Regions from separate parts of the Homo sapiens genome. Here region 2 is linked to region 1. Evidence: promoter capture Hi-C in 16 types of primary human blood cells and fetal thymus (Javierre and others, 2016). All regions are on one chromosome and are shown on one strand. Each heading gives the region's core, a stretch centred on a gene start or on the middle of the fragment in contact. The rest is flanking DNA. Distances are from core to core; before and after follow the strand shown. Region 1 holds the start of PSMD4 (proteasome 26S subunit ubiquitin receptor, non-ATPase 4). Region 2 overlaps RPRD2 (regulation of nuclear pre-mRNA domain containing 2).

What was found. The method cuts DNA at HindIII sites, captures the fragments that hold promoters and counts their contacts. A CHiCAGO score of 5 or more calls a contact.
Region 2: a fragment that was not itself captured here is called in contact with the fragment with the promoter of PSMD4 in region 1 in 1 of 17 cell types (monocytes); the score reaches 5.2 in monocytes.

Annotation. Positions count from the first base shown.
Region 1 is chr1:151,252,035-151,256,539 of GRCh38, reverse strand. PSMD4 (proteasome 26S subunit ubiquitin receptor, non-ATPase 4) reads right to left here and starts at 1,806. Exons shown (of 10, transcript NM_002810.4): 1 at 1,732-1,806. The coding sequence starts at 1,757. RefSeq lists a silencer at 1,545-1,684 and an enhancer at 1,725-1,914. The HindIII fragment of the contact is 14,627 bases long and covers 1-4,505 here.
Region 2 is chr1:150,374,144-150,378,917 of GRCh38, reverse strand. All of the region lies in intron 1 of RPRD2 (regulation of nuclear pre-mRNA domain containing 2), which reads right to left. Among named protein-coding and RNA genes, the nearest start is that of RPRD2, 12 kb to the right of the region's middle. The HindIII fragment of the contact is 1,920 bases long and covers 924-2,843 here.

The sequences.
Region 1 (4,505 bases), core at 557-3,056:
TTGAACCAGGGAGGCGGAGGTTGCAGTGAGCTGAGATGGCGCCACTGTACTCCAACCTGGGCAACAAGAGCAAAACTCCTTCTCAAAGAGAAAAAAAAAAAAAAAAGTGGGCAAAGGACATGAACAGACATCAGACACTTTATTTTTATTTATTTATTTATTTATTTATTTATTTTATTATTATTTTTTTTTTTTTGAGAGGGAGTCTCACTCTGTCGCCCAGGCTAGAGTGCAGTGGCGCCATCTCGGCTCACTGCAACCTCCACCTCCGGGGTTCAAACGATTCTCCCACCTCAGCCTCTGGAGTAGCTGGGACTACAGGCGTCCACCACCACGCCTGGCTAATTTTTGTATTTTTAGTAGAGATGGGGTTTCACCATGTTGGCCAGGCTGGTCAGTAACTCCTGACCTCAGGTGATACACCCACTTCAGCCTTCCAAAGTGCTGGGATTACAGGCCTGAGCCACGCCCCAGCCAGACACTTTTCAAAAGACGATATACATACAGCCAACAAGCCTATTAAAAAAACCTCAATATCACTGATCATTAGAGAAATGCAAATAAATCAAAACCACAACGAGATACCACCTAACACCAGTCAGAATGGCTATTACTAAAAACTAAAAAAATAACAGATGCTGGCAAGGTTGCGAGAAAAGAGAACACTGTTCTATCGTTGGTGCAAGTGTAAATTAGTTCAATCACTGGGAATCACTTGAACCAGGGAGGCGGAGGCTGCAGTGAGCCAGACTGGGCCACTGCACTCCAGTCCGGGAGACAGAGCGAGACCGTCTCAAAAAAAAATTATTCATCGTTTATCTGAAACTCAAATTTCACTGGGCATCCTGTATGTTATCTGGCAATGCTATGCTCCCCCGAGAAAATAAAAAGAAGAAATCTCATAGGTGCCTGTTTCACCCAATCGGTGATTTGTGTTCGTCAACTATTCTGTATTACATTCAGTGATTACACTTAGAAGGAACTCTTGAAACCCTGCAAAAATTTATGTCCTCCTCTTCTAATGTGACTCGTAATAGGTACTCAGCCCAAGCCTGAAACTGACAAAGAGAGCTACCTCACCGGATAAAGCCTTTGTGTCAGACAGCCGTGGGTTTAAATCTTGACTCCACCACTTAACTAGCTGTATGATTTTGGACAAATCACTTAAAATCGCTGAGACTCGGTATCCTGAACCGTAAAATGGAGAGATAATTTACCTTAAGGTGTGGTTGTGAGGTATAAGTGAGATAAACAAAATGACTGATACATAAAAAGCAATCTGTAAATGGTACCTTTGAAGATGATACAGGGAAAGGTAATGAAGTTAGAGACGAGGGAATGGGGAGAGGAAGGGATTAATAATCTATTTTCCTAATAGACGTTATTTTGCAAAGAAAGGAGGGCAGAAAACTATTACGATGAGTCCGAAAAGCAGAACTGTAGCTAAAGACAGACCCGGGCTGCTCTAGAGAAGACGGCGCTAGAACAGAGAAAGGAAGCAGGAATGACCAGTCAATGACCGTCCCCCTGGGGGTAACAGTGGTAACCCGGGACTATCCGCCACTCCAGGGCCCCGGGATGACTCAGGGAGTCCAGCGGGCTCCTTACCTCCGGGGCCAGGGCCGCCTCTCGCCCATGAGCCCCTGGCCCCCACCCCAGGCCCTCCCTGCCTTGGCGCTACACGCGCCCGGAACCCAGCTCTGCCCCTCCTGCCCCGAAGTAGCTCCTCACCACACCATAGTGCTTTCCAACACCATCTTGCCACCTTCCTCCCTCCCGACCGGGTCTCCGGGACGGCCTAACAACAACTCCTCCAATTGGCCCGTCGCTCTTCACCAATCACAGACCTCGGCTTGGCCAGCTGCTTCCGCCTCCGTCCCCCACGTTGCGTTCTGGGAGTTGTAGGTGCCGCCAAACAAATTTGTAGGCGTCTTGAGGGTAGTTGAAGGGAATCGCGGTAACACAAAAAACAGGATCTAGCCTCCACTTTCCCTGCCATTGCAGTTCTCAGTTGGGGTTTCCCGCTGGCCGGATCTCAGGGGAGCTATGGAGGAACCTTTGAAAGTGCTGTGTCGATTCCGGCTTCGGCATTTTAAAAAAGTGTCGGGATCGGCCGAGCGCGGTGGCTCACGCCTGTTAGCCCAGCACTTTGGGAGGCCAAGGCGGGCGGATCACGAGGTCAGGAGTTCGAGACCAGCCTGGCCAGCATGGTGAAACCCTGTCTCTACTAAAAATACAAAAAATTAGCCGGGCATGGTGGCGCACGCCTGTAATCCCCGCTACTCGGGAGGCTGAGGCAGGAGAATTACTTGAACCCGGGAGGCAGAGATTGCAGTGAGCCGAGATCGCGCCACTGCACTCCAGCCTGGGGGACAGAGTGAGACTCCGTCTCAAAAAAAGAAAAAAAAAAGTGTCGGGATCGCTAATGACTTTCTACAGCCCTCAGTTCCCTGTAGAATTTTAATTCAACAAGCCCTTATACCCTTCAATTGAATTTATTTGTATATTTATCTCCTCCCTCGTTTAACTAAGGGTGGGCAACGTGCCTTTTTTTTTTTTTTTTTTTTTTTTTTTTTTTTTTTTTTTGAGACGGAGGAGTCTCGCTCTTTCACCCAGGCTAGAGTGCAGTGGCTCGATCTCGGCTCACTGCAACCTCCACCTCCTGGGTTCCAGGGATTCTCCTGCCTCAGCCTCCCAGGTAGCTGGGACTACAGGGGCATTCCACCATGCCCGGCTAATTTTGTATTTTTAGTAGAGACGAGGTTTCACCATGTTGGCCAGGCTGGTCTCGATTTCCTGACCTCAGATGATCCACCCACCTCAGCTTCCCAAAGTGCTGGGATTACAGGCGTGAGCCACCACACCTGGCCGGCAACGTGTCTTAATCTTTACAATTCCCTAAGCCCAGTACAGAGCCCGGAAAAGATTTGACAACTCAATTATATTAACTAATCTGCCAAAGAACAAACCACTAAACCGTTTTGGTTAATCAAAAATTACATTCAAGGCCTGATGCAATGGCTTAGGTTTTATAATCCCAGCGTTTTGGGAGGCCCAGGCAGGAGGATCAACTCAGGCTAGGAGTCTGAGACCAGCCTGGACAACACAGCCAGACTCCGTCTCTACAAAGTTTTATTGTTTGAGACAGGGTGTCGCTCTGTTGCCCAGATTGGAGTGCAGTGGCCTGATCTCGGCTCACTGCAATCTCCACCTCCCGGGTTCAAGCCATCCTCCTGCCTCAGCCTCCTGAGTAGCTGGGGCTATAGGTGCATGCCACCAAGCCCAGCTAATTTGTTTTTAATTTTTTGATGTGGGAGGATGGCTTGAGCGCATGAGTTCGAGACCAGCGTAGGCAACATAGCCAGACCCCATCTCTGAAAAAAAAAAAGTCTCAAAGTGTTGGGATTACAGGCGTGAGCCATCACATCAGCTGGATATTTGATATTAAGCAATTTTTTTAGGCATGATAATAGTGTTAAAGTTATCACCCTTATAAAAGTAGGCTTTATTAAGGGTTATATGTTGTATTCATAGATAAAAAAAGTATATGAAGTTTGGGATTTAACTTAATCCTCTGGAAGAAACAAATAGTTTTGTTTTTTGAGACAGGGTCTCAAAGTAAAACAAAAGAGACAAGGTCTCACTGGGCTGGAGTGCAGCAGTGGTGCAATCATACATAGCTCACTGCAACCTCTAACTCCTGGCCTCCCATCTCAGCCTCCGAAAACTGGGATTACAGGCTTGAGCCACTGCACCCGGCCACGCTGGTCTTATTTATGTTGATAATTATTGAGGCTGGGTTATGTGTACATAGTGGTTCACCATACTACTCTACTTTTGGTTTGGAAATTCCCATAATGAAAAAAAGAAGGCCAGCTGGGCACGGTGGCTCACGCCTGTAATCCCAGCACTGAGAGGCCGAGGTGGGCAGATCACTTGAGGTTGGGAGTCCGAGACCAGCCTGGATACCCCCGTCGCTACAAAAAAATACAAAAATTAGCTGATTGTGATGGTGCCAGCCTGTAGTCCCAGCTACTTGAGAGACTGAGGTAGGAAAGTCGCCTGAGCCCAGAAAGTCAAGGCTAGAGTGAGCTGAGATTGCTCTGGGTAACAGAGCAAGACTAAAAAAGAAAACCAAGGCTGGGAAATCTCAGCACTTTGGGAGGCCGAGGCGGACGGATCATAAGTTCAGGAGATCGAGAACATCTTGGCCAACATGGTGAAATCCCATCCTACTAAAGATACAAAAATTAGCCGGGCATTGTGGTGGGTGCCTATAGTCCCAGCTACTCTGGAGGCTGAGGCAGGAGAATCACTTGAATCCGGGAGGAAAAGGTTGCAGTGAGCCGAGATCGTGCTATTGTACTCCAACCTGCGCGACAAGAGTGAAACTCCGTCTCAAAAAAAGAAAAACAAAACTAATAAAGAATGAGACTTCATCTCTGAATACATCTCAGAATAGCTGAGATTGACATGCTTAAGGGTAAAATATCAGACCAGATGAC
Region 2 (4,774 bases), core at 634-3,133, 880 kb after region 1:
TTCCACCTCCGGGTCCAAGGGATTATCCTGCCTCAGCCTCCCAAGTGGTTGGGATTACAGGCGCGCACCACCATGCCTGGCTAAGTTTTGTATTTTTAGTAAAGATGGGGTTTCTTCATTTTGGCCAGGCTGGTCTCGAACTCCTGACCTCATGTGATCCACCCGCCTTGGCCTCTCAAGTTGCTGGGATTACAGGCACTCAGTGAGCCACCCTGTCTAGCCAATAAATTATTTCTTAATTAAAAATAACTATATTTTGTAAAACAAAAATTTAGTGGGAGCAAATTGTTTTTCATTTTTGCAAATCTGTTTAATGGTCTGGCTTAAAAGGAGAGAAGTGTGTTCTTCTACTTGCTTCTATATGAGAATGGGCAGGTGCAAGGCTGTTTGGGAACTTTTATCCTGTATATACCACACTGTCCATGGAACACTATAAAATACCAATATACTCTGAAAGAAGCAGGAAGCCGTCTACCATAATGGTAAAGTGTAGGCCTTGGAGTCAAGACTGCTTAAGTTTGCAACCTGGCTCTATTGTTCATTAGTTGTGTACCTTGAACAAGTTATTTTAACCTCACTGAGCCCTCAAGTACTTAATTTATTGTCATTTATAGGGTTTATTATTTTACCTGTCACCAGTGTAATTTACATATACATCACTAATAGATTTACTCAGTAATAATACATTAACTAATGAATTGTTATATTAAATGAAATCACATAAGAACTCAGTAAATGTTATTTTCTTACTAAACTATTAGTGTTATGTTTGTAAAATTAACTACATTAATGACTGGAAATATAAGATTATTAAGTAATAACAACATACTTGTAAGCAACTTGGGCTTTGAATCCACCGTATTTCTTTTCTTTCTCCCACTTACCTTCACGTGACTTCTGCTTATATAAAACAAAATTAAGCTTATGCTTAGCCACTCTGAAACCAGGCACGTTTCCTTTTCCTACACTATAAATGTTCTGACAATTTCCCCAAAATAATCAATTTACTTCTCTGAGACTCAATTTATAAATTTTTAATAAATTTATAAATTCAACTGTTACACATCTATATTTTATAAATTCATATTTTTTATAAATTTACAAATTCATATTTTGCAGAGCTGACATCAAGATTATAGGTAATACATGTATGATAGCTAGTAAGGATCCTCAGTAAACAATAAGGATCCAGCAATCCAACCAAAGTGATACCTATTCTAAACTGTTAGAGCATATAAAACTCATATTATTATACTTCCCAGAACCAGTTATATGTGTTCAATTCCTATCTTACTTACTAAATGTTTTTTTTTTTTTTTTGAGACGCAGTCTTGCTCTGTCGCCCAGGCTAGAGTGCAGTGGTACGATCTCGGCTCACTGCCAGCTCTGTCTCCCAGGTTCACACCATCCTCCTGCCTCAGCCTCCCGAGTAGCTGGGACTACAGGCGCCCGCCACCACGCCTGGCTAATTTTTTGTATTTTTAGTAGAGACGGGGTTTCACCGTCAGCCAGGATGGTCTCAATCTCCTGACCTCGTGATCCGCCCGCCTCGGCCTCCCAAAGTACTGGGATTACAGGCGTGAGCCACCGCGCCCGGCCCATTTACTAAATGTTAAGTTCCTTATAATTCCATCTCTTTCAGCACCCAATACAGGGGTTTACATAGAGGAAGTACTCAATATTTCCTTTCTTTTTTTCTTTTTTTTTCTGGAGATAGTCTCGCTCTGTCACCAGGCTGGAGTGTAGTGGCGTAATCTCAGCTCACTGCAACTGCTGCCTCCTGGGTTCAAGCAATTCTCCTGCCTCAGCCTCCCGAGTAGCTGAGACTACAGGCACATGCCACCACGCTCAGCTAATTTTTGTATTTTTAGTAGAGACAAGGTTTCACCATGTTGGCCAGGCTGGTCTCAAACTCCTGACCTCAGGTGATCTCCCCACCTTGGCCTCCCAAAGTGCTGGGATTACAGGCGTGAGCCACAGCGCCCGGCCAGCACTCAGTATTTCTAAGTTCATTTTCTCATTCTGTATCTTTAGGCATAACATATTATAAGAGAATTTTAATCTTTCAAGTAATACTGCCTCCTAGACACAAAGATCATCATTTTAAAAGACTGTATCGGCCGGGCGCGGTGGCTCACGCCTGTAATCCCAGCACTTTGGGAGGCCAAGGCGGGCGGATCACGAGGTCAGGAGATCGAGACCATCCTGGCTAACACGGTGAAACCCCTTCTCTACTAAAAATACAAAAAATCAGCCGGGCGTGGTGGCGGGCGCCTGTAGTCCCAGCTACTCAGGAGGCTGAGGCGAGAGAATGGCGTGAACCCGGGAGGCGGAGCTTGCAGTGAGCCGAGATGGCGCCACTGCACTCCAGCCTGGGCAACAAACAGAGCAAGATTCCGTCTCAAAAAAAAAAAAAGACTGTATCATGCTACACTCTAAAACTATGATGACAGTAAAGGAACACAAAAACAGCTCAGGATCCATTCTAGGTTTTTTAAAACAAAAAATGTTAAGTTATAATCCCAAACATTAAAAGATCCTTTTTTCCTTTCACAGTGCAACTTTTACTAAAGGGTAATAAAGAATCACTCTCTCTCTCTGCTAATGGATTCCAGAGAACTAGAAAGTGCAAGTAAGTGAAATTAATTATAAGAGAAAGAAGTGAAGAAAGAGAGATGAGGGAGAGATCAAGGCCTCAATCAAACACTAGTAAAATTTAAACCCAGCAAACCAAACATTTTCATTTCCTTCATCAAAGAGCCTCTATTTCAATATTTCTCTAAAAACAAGAGAATAAGAATGAAGCATTTTTAAAAACTATCTTTATCTTAGCCAGAAAAGCTTTAATATTTCAAAGCACAGATGGAATTGTTGCCTTTTCTCAAAAGGAATAACTAGGTTCTACTACTTTCTCCCTAAGATGTACATTCCTCCAGTGTTCTATAATTAATATCTGTGGGGGCAGTGGAATTTGAAATCACTACGAAACACAACTACTTTTTGTTTCCTTGACAAATAGATGAGAAAGTCAGTCAAGCTGGTTTGTAAATTGTTCTGTTCTTGGGTAATTTTTATTAGGGTCTCTGAGTTCCTTCAACAAATTAAACCTCATGTATCCTTAATTCTCAATTGAAATTTTAAAACAACTGACCAAAATCTCCCCTTTTGACTTTTAAAAGTACTGCTGTAAAACAATAAACACCTGGAAAAAGTGGGAGGAAAAAAGAGAACATAACTGACAAAAGCCTAGGAGGAAGAAAGAATTTTGATGCAACTATTATTTATTAGTTTAAGAAAGGCAGGAAGCCAAATCATTAAGAGTAAAATCATTCAACCCAAGGAAGCTGATAACAACAAAAAAGAATAAAATCAGTAAGCTTCTACTCCCTAAAAAATTACGCACATACATACACTCGTCCCTCCTCTACAGACAAAACTAACATTAAAGTAATTCTGGGTGGCCTCTGTGAGCAAATTTTAATATTAGTGTTTTTCCACTGCTATTGTAATTTTCCTTTCAAGATACCTCCATGTCACAGAACCATGTGAAGTTTGTCAGTAGTGTTTCACACTTTTAGTTATGGGAATGTTTATTTGCTACAAAATTTACTCTTTAGCTTACTATGGAATTTGGTATAGTAAAATTATGTTTTACATATTGCTTCAAACCCACCTAAGGCCATGGATGAAATCACCCTTCTGCTGTAAGAGACTAAGCAGCTAAAAGGAAGAAGATAACAACTGCTTGGAAAGTCTCACAATACAGACAAAAAGGCTTAATATATACCATTACAATAATTATAGTTTATAATTAAGACAGTTCCATGTTTCGAAACATTGCCAGAAACCTGGAAAAATACCACCTATAACTCTATGAACCTAGAGCAATGGAATGAAAAAAAAAAAAGGTGACTTAGGCATCTAAAGGGGAGGGAGAGGGTGGATAATAACCAATTATAACAGAGCTCCTGCTCAATGAATACAGAAATGCCATTAAGCGTAAACCAAGAGTAAAAATACGCAAGAGACCAAAATAGATTTATTACTTCTTTGGGGGGCTGAGACAAAGTTTACCTTGAACCTCAAAAAGAACCTAAGCCAATAACACACTAGACTAAGTAGAAAGAGTCATCTAAAATACTAGAATGCCCCAACAGCCTTCTGAGAATAGAGAATAAACAAACTTAAAAGTGCTTTTCCTACATTCTCATTCAACAATCAACAAAGACTTCTTTGACCAAATGTATGAGAGTTCTCCCCACACACACCAAGCAAGCAATTCTGCAATGAACACCAGCTAGGTGCCCTCCAATTCAATTCTGACACTGGAAGAGAGCATCAGATCCCACAGACTGAGTGCTCAGTCTCACAAGACTGCCCCCCACTTCCCATGCCAATCACAAATCTCAGGTTAACATTTGCTCTGACCCAACCACCATAAATCGGGGCTCACACAACCCCCTTCTTGGGTTCCATTAATTTGCTTGAGCAGCTCACAGAACTCAGGGAAACACGTTTACTGGTTAATTATAAAGGACATAACAAAGGACACCAATGAACACCAGATGAAGAGATGGAGGGGGCAAGGTAGGGCTAAGAGTGCAGAGCTTCTAGGTTCTTTCTGGGCATGCCAACCTCCAGGAACCTCCATATGTTTTGCTGTCTAGAAGCTTCCCAAAACCAGTCCTTTTGGATTTTTATGGAAGTTTCGTTATGAAGGCATAATTAATTAAACCACTGGCCACTGGTGTTCAGTTTACCCCTTCAGCTCTTC